Regions from separate parts of the Homo sapiens genome. Here all the other regions are linked to region 3. The links are contacts of gene promoters, found by promoter capture Hi-C in human tissues and cell types (Jung and others, 2019). All regions are on one chromosome and are shown on one strand. The core of a region is centred on a gene start or on the middle of the fragment in contact, and the rest is flanking DNA. Distances in the headings are between cores, read along the strand shown.

Region 1 (3,710 bases), core at 954-3,453, 77 kb before region 3:
CCTTGAAGGACACTGCTAAAACACATCCAGTGAGTTCAGGGACCCTGATCACAGGAAGAATGCCTGCCTGATGTTGGAGGAAGGGGTAAAGCCAACGCCTGAAGCTTTCTCTGTGCTTCTCTGTAACAGTCACCAGAGCTACAGGCCAGCAGCACTTTTCTTTTACATGGCACCTTCCTCTCATTTGTGGGGAAAATAAGGACTTTATTAGTTCTTCCATTTCTCTTACCCTCTCAGGATTATAGCTTTATCATCCAAATGCCAGGAAAGTAAAACAAAACAAAGTTAGACAATCTAAATTAAACTCTCTCAACATTATAGGGATGAAGGACCTTCAGAGTACTAGAACTTCTTAAAAAAAATCTCTTGCATTGCTACATCAGTTTCCAACACACATATTATTTCATTCAAATGTTAAGAAGGGGAAAAGAATGTTACAGTGTACTGTAATTATTTTAGGTTCATGATGAAAATGCTTTACAAGGGTGGGCGCGGTGGCTCACGCCTGTAATCCCAGCACTTTGGGAGGCTGAGGCGGGTGGATCACTAGGTCAGGAGATCGAGACCATCCTGGCTAACATGGTTAAAACCCGTCTCTACTAAAAATACAAAAAATTAGCCAGGTGTGGTGGCGGGCGCCTGTAGTCCCAGCTACTCGAGAGGCTGAGGCAGGAGAATTGCGTGAACCCGGGAGGCAGAGCTTGCAGTGAGCTGAGATGGCGCCACTGCACTCCAGTCTGGGTGAGAGTGCAAGACTCCATCTCAAAAAAAAAAAAAAAAAAAAAAAAAAAGAAAAGAAAAAGAAAATGCTTTACAAATATGAAAACTCCTCCCTGGTTTTTTTTGAAAGCTTAATGTTTGTCTAACAAAACCGTAAATAGGATTCTATAATATTGATGTTAGAAATGAATTTATATTTTTCTAGTTTTAAGGGAATAGCTGTATATTACTTTAGATGGTGGTACTATATAAAAATATGTTTTCCCATTACATCCAAAGGTGATGATATTAATTTATTGCTAGAGAAAGAATTGATATTGAGTTATAGAGATTTTCCAGAAGGTATTTTAAGACCCTTTGCTGGTCCTTTGTGACTGGCGTCATGTATGTTACACAGCAGGTTGAAAGTGACATGCTGTGATTCTGGAAGAGTGTGAGTCTATTGGCCCTGTAACCCATGAGCTTGTTTTCACTAACCCAGTGCTCAAAGCAAATTAATTCACCCACGAAGTTTGCTTTAACACTTATCTAAGCGTTACTATCAATGTTCTAGGAAGTAACAAGTATCATTGCTGATATACAGCTCTGAGTTGACTCATAAACATTTCTGATCTCATGAGATAGTTGCAGTGGTGTTTTGCTGTGTTTACTAGATGCAACTAACAAACACCATGAGATTTACAAAGAGATTTGAAGATATCTGTGTCTCCAAAATTGATTGCAAGGTGTAGCAGGGGCCAGTAAGGTGAGCTTTCTTCCACTCCCTAGAATGTCTTCCTCAATCCAGATTTTAAAGTGTATTGAAATGATAGCCGGCTGAATCACCAGGTCGAAAGGATCAACCAACTATTTATTAAGCACTTCATGTATTTTCTGTCCCATAGAGATTTCAGTGAAAGATATAGTGTGGATAAAACAAAGAGAAAAAAGTGTCCTCATGCTTATGACTTAATCGCAGAAGTGGAACTTAGACATGTGAAACAATTAAACAATTTCACAACAACAGATAAGCAAATGGGATGCTTTGGAGAGACATCTGGTCCCTGTGCTGTTTATAGCCAATTCCAGTGGTGAATAAAAGAAGTGGAACGAACTGCTTTTGAAGGGAGTGCATCCTGATCCTCTGGCAGCAAGGTAGAGGTTTTCTGCCAGGAGGGAACACTAGACGGAGGCTGTTTGTTTTTTCTCCAAACAGAAATCTCTTCCATGCTAATAGGAGCTTCAAAAGGATTGCCACAGCAGATGGAAAGAACCAATATATATTCATGCATTTAATTAGCAGGAATTAATTGAATTGGGGGATTAATTCTGTCATTAGAGAGAAACAAAACCTATTTTTGTCTCCCATCTATGGTTACACAATCTAAGATGGATTTGGCACAGGTGGTGTTTGAATATAAAGCCACCGTAGTATCTAATGGCCTTTTGATGCCACTGATGGATTAATCCCAGGGATGATGAGAAGGTAGCCATGTGAGATGTGTGCTCTGCACCATGTTTCAGCAGTGGAGGAGAAGCTGGTAGGTGGAGTGTGAGGGGTATAAACCTAGAATTCAGTGAGTGTTTGAAGGAGGAAAAAGGGGAGGAGATTGGGAGAGTCTCTTCTCTTACATCTGATTTTTTTTTCTTTTTCTTTTTCTTTTTTATTGAGACGGAATCTCACTCTGTCACTCAGGCTGGAGTGCAGTGGCGTGATCTCGGCTCACTGCAACCTCCGCCTCCTGGGTTCAAGCAATTCTCTTGTCTTAGCCTCCCAAGTAGCTGGGACTACAGGCTTCCACCGTCATGCCCAGCTAATTTTTGTATTTTTAGCAGAGACAAGTTTGTACCACGTTGGCCAGGCTGATCTCAAACTCCTGACCTCAGGTGATTCACCTGCCTCGGCCTCCCAAAGTGCTGGGATTACAGGCGTGGGCCACAGTGCTCGGTCACATCTGATTATTAATGAGAGATTAAGGACAGACACACCTAAGACAGAATTTTTAATTCAATCTAACAAGCACCCATTGCCTGGTCTTCCCCCTGCTTTTCTTTTTTTTTTTCTTCTCCAAAAATCTGTTCCTCCAGAAAAGCAGTTTTCATCCTTTTTAATTTTTAGGCCAAGATACTCATGACATAAACCAGATGACATTGTATGCATAACACATTCCCATAAGTGACATAGGTAAAAAGACTGTTGATTATACCCCTTTCCCAACACTGACAAGTCAACACCAGCCCTCCGACTCAAAGCACATCACAATTCAAGTATATGATGTGACAGTTTGTACTTTTCAAAAATAGCCATGGCATTTTCTCCCACCTACACACTCATCTTGCAATGTGACTTTGATGCTCTTTCCATTGAAATGTGGGATCTACGCTCTCTCTCCTTGTATATGCGCAAACGTGGACTTCAGCAGGAATGATACCTTGGGATTTCCAAGGCGAGGTGAGTTGATCACTGGGCTCTCTTGGGATGGTTGCTTTTGGAACCCAGCCACCATCTTATAAGAAAGCCCAAGAAGCACACGGGAAGCCCAGGAATCCCACATGAGAGGATCCAAGGCTCCTAGCCGATACCAGTACCCAGTTACTAGCCATGTGTCTGATCATATTTGAACTGGATCTTTCAGCTCTTAGTGGAGCAGCTCCAACTGCTGCCAGGTATAACAAAGACAAACTATCTCTGCAGAACGCTGCCCCAAATGCAGATTTTTGAGCAAAAGAAATAATTGGGTTTTAAGTCATATACTTTACCATGCAATAATAGATAGTTGATACAGAGTTGCATGTCATTAGAAGAATAATCTTAAATCTGTTCTAATATGTTAAAAACCTTCAGTAGTTTAACTTTTATTATAACAAATAATTTGTCACATGTCTTTTTACTGATTGTGAAAAAGTCCTCTAGGCCTAGATAAAAATGCAGAGGTCTTTAGAAATTTATATAATTCATTCTTTTTCTCACCTCATCTTGGACTTATTCAGTATGCCTATGTAGAATAATA
Region 2 (3,679 bases), core at 859-3,358, 95 kb after region 3:
CAGAACTGGAAGTCTGAAGCGAGCCCTGCACAATGCCGAATGCCAGAAGACTGTCACCATCTCCAAGCCCTGTGGCAAACTGACCAAGCCCAAACCTCAAGGTAAGTCCTTGCCATTATACCACAATTTTAATGGATTGATGGACTCAGGTAAGATCTGGAAAACCCACATTTTCCAGAAGGAAATATTAGGTGAATTACCTTAAGAAAGTGACTGAAAAACTCCCCTACACTGAGAGTCACAAAAATACTTTAAAAATACTTTGAAGCAGGCAGCCTGTGAGTGCAAATTGAAGTCCTCTGCATAGATGAGGGGATTGGTACAGTCTCCTAACCCAAATAAATAACATAGCAAAAGAAACCAGCAAAGACAGTTGTATGATGACCATATATTCCACACTCTTAATTGGAACTGTATCCTGACAAGAAAAACAAACTCAGAATGTTTATGACGGAGACAATTTTAAATCAAACTTCTCCCAGATTATCTGAAATATAGTTTTCACAAAATCAGGAAAATTATTTTACATTTTCCCTTTATTCACTGCATAACTTAATGGGTTCTGCATTTGTTTTCAGAGCCTTTATATTTTTTGAGTTCAATTTGGTTACCAACTACATTCATCACAGAATTTTTAAATGACAGAGATCTGTATCTCCCAGAAAGTCAGGCTCTGCTCTCTTGCTGGAGAAGGTAAAAACAATCATTATGGCCATGAATTCATACATACAAGGATCCCAACTGAGGGAAATAAACTCTTTCATCATGGATGTTATTGTCTGAATTGTGTTTTCCCAAATTCATATGCTGAAGTTTTAACCCCCTCACAATGTCACTGTATTGGAGACAGGGTCTTTAAAGAGGTAATTGAGATAAAATGCAGTCACAAGGGTAGGCCCTAATCCAGTGCAGCTGGTGTGTTTATAAGAAGGGAGATTAGGACACAGAAATACATAGAGAGAAGACTGTGTGAAGACAGAGGGAGAAGAATGCCATCTACAAGCCATAGGGAGAACCTTCAGAAGAAATCAGCCCTACAGATGCCTTGATCTTAGGCTTGTAGCTTCCAGAACTGCAAGACAATAAATAAATAAATTTCTGTTGTTTAAGCCACCAACTCTGTGGTACTTTGTTATAGGAGCTATAGCCAACTAATACAATGGGACTCAATGAACTCTAAATTCAAATACCTTCTTGGCCTCTACTCATATATTTTAACTCTAAGGTGGTCCTGAAAATTCATACTGCCAGAGAAATTGTAAGGAGAGATTCAGAAAAATGACCATGTAAGAAATGCTCATAATAAATAAAAGTAGAAAAAAAAAATCTGCAGAAGGTGATGGAGATTGGCTGGTTTCCTGCTGGTGGCCAGAAAGGACTTTATTTTTCACAGGCCTGGCTTTTTGGCCACTGCTGGAGTTGTCCATAGAAATAGTTATCTCCAACTTCAGGATGGCCAGGTACAGGCTGGACCTGCAGGTGGTGAGTCTAGGGTTCAGGCTGCCCTTTCCAGATCATGGAAATCTCTGCCTGTTGTCATATGGTTTTTGGAAGGCATGAAGCAGGGCTGGAGTGACTGCAGTGAGTACTTATGCAGACTTCCCAAATGTCATTTGTCCAGAGACAACCACATAAATCTAAGCAAAATCAGTGCCCTATCTACCAAGTGAAACATTTCCAAAAATGGCAAAACTCAGAGTTACTGTAGTCAAAATAATTTATTTTTAGTCCAGCTGTAGAACCAAAATATTCAGCATAAATACAGAATTGAAAGGAAAAGAAATTAAAGAAGCTTCCACATTCTAGCACAGTGATGCTCAACCTGGGCTTCACATTAGAATATTCTGTGGGAACTTGCAAAACTCCCAGTGCCCAAGTATAGCACAGACTAACCCAATCAGCATCAGTAGTTTAAAAATTGTGAATGCATCTCAGAAGGTTTCATGATGCAGCCAAAATTGAGAACTACTGCTCTAGTATGGAATCCATTGACAAGAGACCACACACACATGCATACACATGTAACACACACACACACACACACACACACACACACACGTGCACTGTCCTGTTCTTTCCTATGGGAAAGAGAAAATTCAACTTTATAATAAGGGAGAAAAAGTGGGGACATGATTAGGTGGAAGATGGTGGGGCTGGGTGAACACATAAAATGTTGAAAAGTTTGGAATAAATGGGACACAGCAGGGAACATGATTAAGATAGAACCCTAAACGATATTTAGGAAATAAGTGAAGTCTTCCTTTTACCTGAACTGGTGTATATTTCACCTTTATACAGTATCTCATCTAATAACATGTAATGAAGGTTAAGTTTGTTTCAGGCTTTCAGCTTGAAAAAATGACACTAAAAATATTTCAAGTGGATAGACATTCTGTAATATTCATACGTAAATAAATTATGGTATATAATTAATTGATATAATTAATTGAAAATATGATTACTATGAGTGATTCTATGTTTCAAACTACCAGTTATGCAATTTACAGGTCATTAAAATTCATCCTTCCCTTTGTGTATAATATACCTTTGTTATAACTAACCAATCTTTTCCATCTCAGCAGTGGAGAGTCTTATAAATGCTGTTTGGCACTGAGACACTCTGCAAAAAGAATGATTTCTTTTTTCTTTTTGATACAGAGTCTCACTCTGTCACCCGTGCTGGAGGGCAGTGAGGCGATCTCGGCCCACTGCAAACTCCGCCTCCTGGGTTCAAGTGATTCTCCTGCCTCAGCCTCCTGAGTAGCTGGGATTATGGGCATGCGCCCAGCTAATTTTTCTGTCTTTTTAGTAGAGACAGCATTTCATCATGTTGGTCAGGCTGGTCTTGAACTCCAGACCTCAAATGATACACCCGCCTTGGCCTCCCAAAGTGCTGGGATTAAAGGCATGAGCCACTGTGCCTGGAAAAAAGAATATTCTTATTTTAGGAGTTGAACCAGGGAGATGTGTCAGATATAAAATCTTTGTAGGGGACACAGACACACTCACACACACACACACATTCCATGGCATATTTTTCCTAGTTTAAACCAAAATGTAACGAGTGGCATATGTAAGTTGTATTTATTTTTGTACTATTTTTCTCAAATAAACTTGGATAGATATTATAGCTTTTCCTTTGCACGTCTCTAATTTTAAGATAGCTTACATTCTACTAATCAATGGGAAAGCAAATAGTAATGAATGGAATCTATACTATCATTATCATTATTCAGTTTCTACTCTATACATTGCTCTAGGTGTTTTCCATATGGTAACTTATAAAGTCCCATATATCCTTGCGGGTGGGTATTATTATAAAGGAAACTGAGGAACACTGGTTAATTTACTTGACCAGGAGTATATCTCTAATAAATGACAGTGCCAAGATTTGTCTAACTCTAAATTCATGTCATCTTTTGTATTCTGCTGATTTCTCACCTAAATCACAAAGGGGTATGAACTAACCTCCATGGGTTTTAATTTCCTTTGAAATAGGAGAAGGTGAATGTTGTCTTTTTTCTTTTTAATTTTTGTGGATATGTGGTAGGTGTATATATTTATGTGGTACATGAGATGTTTTGATACAGGCCTGCAATATGAAATAAGCATATTATGGAGAATGCAGTGTCCATCCCCTCAAGCATTTATCCTTGGAGTAACAAACAACCTAATCACA
Region 3 (4,089 bases), core at 765-3,264:
TAACTTGCTTTCACTTTACTCTATGAACTTGCCCTGAATTCTTTCTTGCAACTGAGATCCAAGAACCCTCTCTTGGGGTCTGGACCGGGACCGCTTTCTGGTAACAAAGGCTGTCCTATGCATTGTATGATGTTTTACAGCATCCCCGGCTTCTACCCACTAGATCCAGAGCAACCCCTTCCACCAAGTTGCGACAACCAAGACTACCTCCAGACATTATTCCCTTTTCCTGGAGGGCAAAACTGCTCCCAATTGATAATCACTGATGTATACAATTTTAGTATATACCCATCTGAATAAAGGGTGATATTTTTGGTGTAACATATGTAATTGAGTAGAAATCATGGGAATCTCATGCTTACTTTATCAGCCCTATAGAGAACACCTCAATCAAGCCAGCATTGTTCACCTAACTGGTAGCTAGCTGTATGTTACATTTGTATATGTTAACATAAAGCTGAAGAACAGAAAGAAAATGGATAGCTCTTTGTTCAATGCCTTAGAAACTTTGCCCCTATGGAGTGTTAATAGAATGCTGAGATATCTTTTTTGGTAAAGGGACTGGGAAAAATGCCAAAAAAAAATGCTAATGTGCGTTTCTCCACACTTTATACAGGTGAAATCTGATTAAAACAAGCACTGCTTGCTTCACACAGAAGTGGAATCACAAAAGGAAAACAGGTAACCTGAAGCCTGTGTGTAGGAGAAAGGAACACAGCTTCCTTATTTAGTTATTTCATTTGAGAATTGTATGTGGTATGTATATGAAGAGTTTGGGAAGGGGGATAAATTGTAGGTGTGTAAGTGCATCTCTGATGCCTTTCCTTTTGAAAAGCTTGATTGACTGCTTGATTGAGTTTGTAGAGCCACGTCTGGCTCCAGTCAACTTCTCCAAGGGACATTTCTACAGGTAGCTGTCAATAGAAGAGCCCCAAGTCCCTAAAAACTACTTGCCACAAGACAATGCTTCTAATTTGGGGATTTAAGGATAGTTCTAAGTAAACAAATTGCTTAATAAATATTTGTCAAATTGAAATGAAGGGATGTAACCTCAGAATTATGAAAAATGTGGTCTATTTTACAACCAATTTGGGAAGGACGCCATCAAATGATAAGCTGACCAGTAAAGGTAAAAGTAGGTAAAAGGAGCTAGCCACGGAGCAGGAAAAGCTGATAAGTGGCAGAAAATCTCGAAATTTACATTTCGAAAATGTTTGGGTGAATTTGTATAATACATCTTAATCCTTTTACACAATACTTTTATCTCATCTTTATCATAAATATTTACCTATGCATTGCCTTAGCGTCTTTCCTGTATTGAATGAAATGACAATTCCAGAGACGCAAAGCCCAGCCTCCAAGTTTTACAAACCTCAGAGTTTGAGCTACTTTGACGAATCCTCTAAATTCTTGGGTGTCAAAGGCATGTTACTAAATAGGTTGCTAAAGGCACCAAGGAAACCAAAAAAGGAAAGAGCTCTCCCTAAAGGTAAGTAGCACTTAATTGGGAACTTTGAGACGTCTGTCACTCTTTGTGACAATTGAGAAAAAGTACTTTGTACATTTTGTGCTTTGCAGGTGAGATGTGACTGACACCTTACTGTCTCTGTGTTTAGAGAGGGCTTTCGTGGGTGGAAGAAGAGGCTGGTTTGAAGAGAGTGCTTTTCCATTCTGAATATCATTAAAGGATTGTGGGGGGCCAAAAATGTAACCTAAAATGCCATCAATTGTCCATTTAAAATATCCTATTTGGCAAAGTGGCTTTGCACTCATCTGAAGAATAGATCATGGGTGGAGTTTGGAAAAGAAATGTTGTGTTTCGTCTCTGCTAAAAACAAAACAAGGTACCATCTCATGGCCTCTTGGTTCAAATCCGTTTTCTTGCTCCGCAGGGAGAGACTGCCCCTGGAGTATTCTGCTTTTAATAAGCTTCCCAATCAGCTCTCGAGTGCAAAGCGCTCTCCCTCCCTCGCCCAGCCTTCGTCCTCCTGGCCCGCTCCTCTCATCCCTCCCATTCTCCATTTCCCTTCCGTTCCCTCCCTGTCAGGGCGTAATTGAGTCAAAGGCAGGATCAGGTTCCCCGCCTTCCAGTCCAAAAATCCCGCCAAGAGAGCCCCAGAGCAGAGGAAAATCCAAAGTGGAGAGAGGGGAAGAAAGAGACCAGTGAGTCATCCGTCCAGAAGGCGGGGAGAGCAGCAGCGGCCCAAGCAGGAGCTGCAGCGAGCCGGGTACCTGGACTCAGCGGTAGCAACCTCGCCCCTTGCAACAAAGGCAGACTGAGCGCCAGAGAGGACGTTTCCAACTCAAAGTAAGTGAGAGGAACGTACGATTTCTCGGAGGGCTCTTCGATCGAGTTTGCCTTCACCCTGTGCCACTTTTCTGGGTGCCAGCAGATGATGGTGGTAGGGGTGAGAGAGGCTGCCTGGTGTCTTTGCTGATAGGACTGCTTTCAAAACTGACTTGCTCCAGAGGCCAAGGGAGGCATATTTTTGGGGTTTCAGGTTAGGTTAGTTCGGGTGTGCTTAGGTAAGTGAAAGGAAAGAAGTTTTTGTGATGTTAAGCATGTATTTGGACCGTGTTCCAGCTACCAGCTGGAGAGCAAGACAGGGTGGGCTGGAGAGTGCATCTTTGCTTTTTGTAAAACCTGGAGCTTTAGTAGGTGTGTCTCTGGCTGGGTAGGTGCAAAGAAAGTAAGGCAGCCTGAACAAGCAGCTCTCATTTTCCCAGCCTCTCTCTGATTCTCTGATTGCCCCAGAGCCTGTCAGCCCATGACTCTTAGCTGGCATTTCTAGGTAAGCTGTGGGGGCTTGTTCCTCCCAGTGCTAGCTGACATGAAACGTCTCTCACGGAACTACTGGCACCCGTCTTCCCACCTGACAGCCCAGGAATGGTTCCAGAAATGGTTAGGTCCAAAGTTTAGAAGACACACCTGGAGTCCCATCTCTCATTTGAATGCAAATTTAAAGAACTGCCCAGTACATAGACCCTTAAACTTTTAATTTGACCCACATAAATTTAGGATATATTTGTTACTAATTTACTAGATATTTAGAGTTTCTGAGTTGTTGTTTCTAATAAGTTAAGAAAACATTTTTTGAGAGGAATGTATTCAACTCCTTTCTTAATAGATGGAAAGTGAAACCTCCTCTCTCCTCTCCATACACACACACCCCTTTCTCCATGACATAATGTGACACAACACACACACACACACACACAGGAACACACACATGCAGTTTATATACACTCTAGTGTTAACTCACCCTTGTGTCTGTTAAGAGCTGCTTTGTAAGTTTGGGGACACATTCAGAAAATAGGAGGGGTAGGGGTGCTAAGAGGAGAAAATATTAAAGCTGCGGTCCTTGAGCATCTCTCATTTTAAGAGTTATCAGGCATTTTGCTTTAGCAGCTTGAGAAAGGGGTGATGTGTGTGTGTGCGTGTGCATGTGCGTGTGTGTGTGCTAGAGAGAGGGGTCTGGGAGGAGATTTAGAAATCACCAAAAAGAGCTCTGGACTAATAACATAATGAAACATTTTATGATCCTAGGCAAATGTGGAATTGATGAAACAGCAGGGCCCATTTTAGCCCCTTAATTATCCGGGAATGCATTGATATGTAGAAATATTGAAAGTTAATGACAATGAAACAAAAGAGAAGTCTCCCAACACAGAAAATAAAGCTGTATTTTCCATCTTCATTATGTTTCCTTTTAAGTAAATTATGCACTTTAAAGGCCAAGTCGTTTAAAAAATATAGTCCAGTTAAATTCAGAGGAAATTAGAATGAATATTTTTTTCTTCCTTTGGGACATGAGTTATTTCAGACTGGCAATATTTGTACTTTTTCATTTAAATTAGAAGATGAGATTTTAAAAAATTATATTATTTAAAAAAAACTCTAATGCCATCCTTTTGTGCTTTAAGAAACTTGGGCCTTAAGTTCTCTAATTGTACTTTAAATAAATAGAAGGTGATCTTTTTTCTGCCACTGCTCACTGGTTCCCTTTAGGACATCTTTTTCTGCATTTAGTGAAAAGCCACTATAAGGAACTCCCACCTGAAGCCACATATAACAGCATTAGGTGCTGT

What was found. Contacts are between HindIII fragments. The study calls those that stand out against the background at their distance.
Region 1: a fragment that was not itself captured here is called in contact with the fragment with the promoter of PTN in region 3 in 2 of the 25 tissues and cell types used here (hippocampus and stomach).
Region 2: a contact is called between a fragment that was not itself captured here and the fragment with the promoter of PTN in region 3, in 4 of the 25 tissues and cell types used here (bladder, dorsolateral prefrontal cortex, heart right ventricle and 1 more).

Annotation. Positions count from the first base shown.
Region 1 is chr7:137,419,677-137,423,386 of GRCh38, reverse strand. The region is part of intron 28 of DGKI (diacylglycerol kinase iota); the gene reads left to right. Among named protein-coding and RNA genes, the nearest start is that of PTN, 78 kb to the right of the region's middle. The HindIII fragment of the contact is 3,451 bases long and covers 478-3,710 here.
Region 2 is chr7:137,247,652-137,251,330 of GRCh38, reverse strand. PTN (pleiotrophin) reads left to right here. Exons shown (of 5, transcript NM_002825.7): 4 at 1-101. Among named protein-coding and RNA genes, the nearest start is that of PTN, 94 kb to the left of the region's middle. The HindIII fragment of the contact is 7,666 bases long and covers 1-3,679 here.
Region 3 is chr7:137,341,658-137,345,746 of GRCh38, reverse strand. PTN (pleiotrophin) reads left to right here and starts at 2,014. Exons shown (of 5, transcript NM_002825.7): 1 at 2,014-2,308. RefSeq lists a cis regulatory region at 1,462-1,471 and promoters at 1,475-2,220, 56-2,220. The HindIII fragment of the contact is 6,839 bases long and covers 1-4,010 here.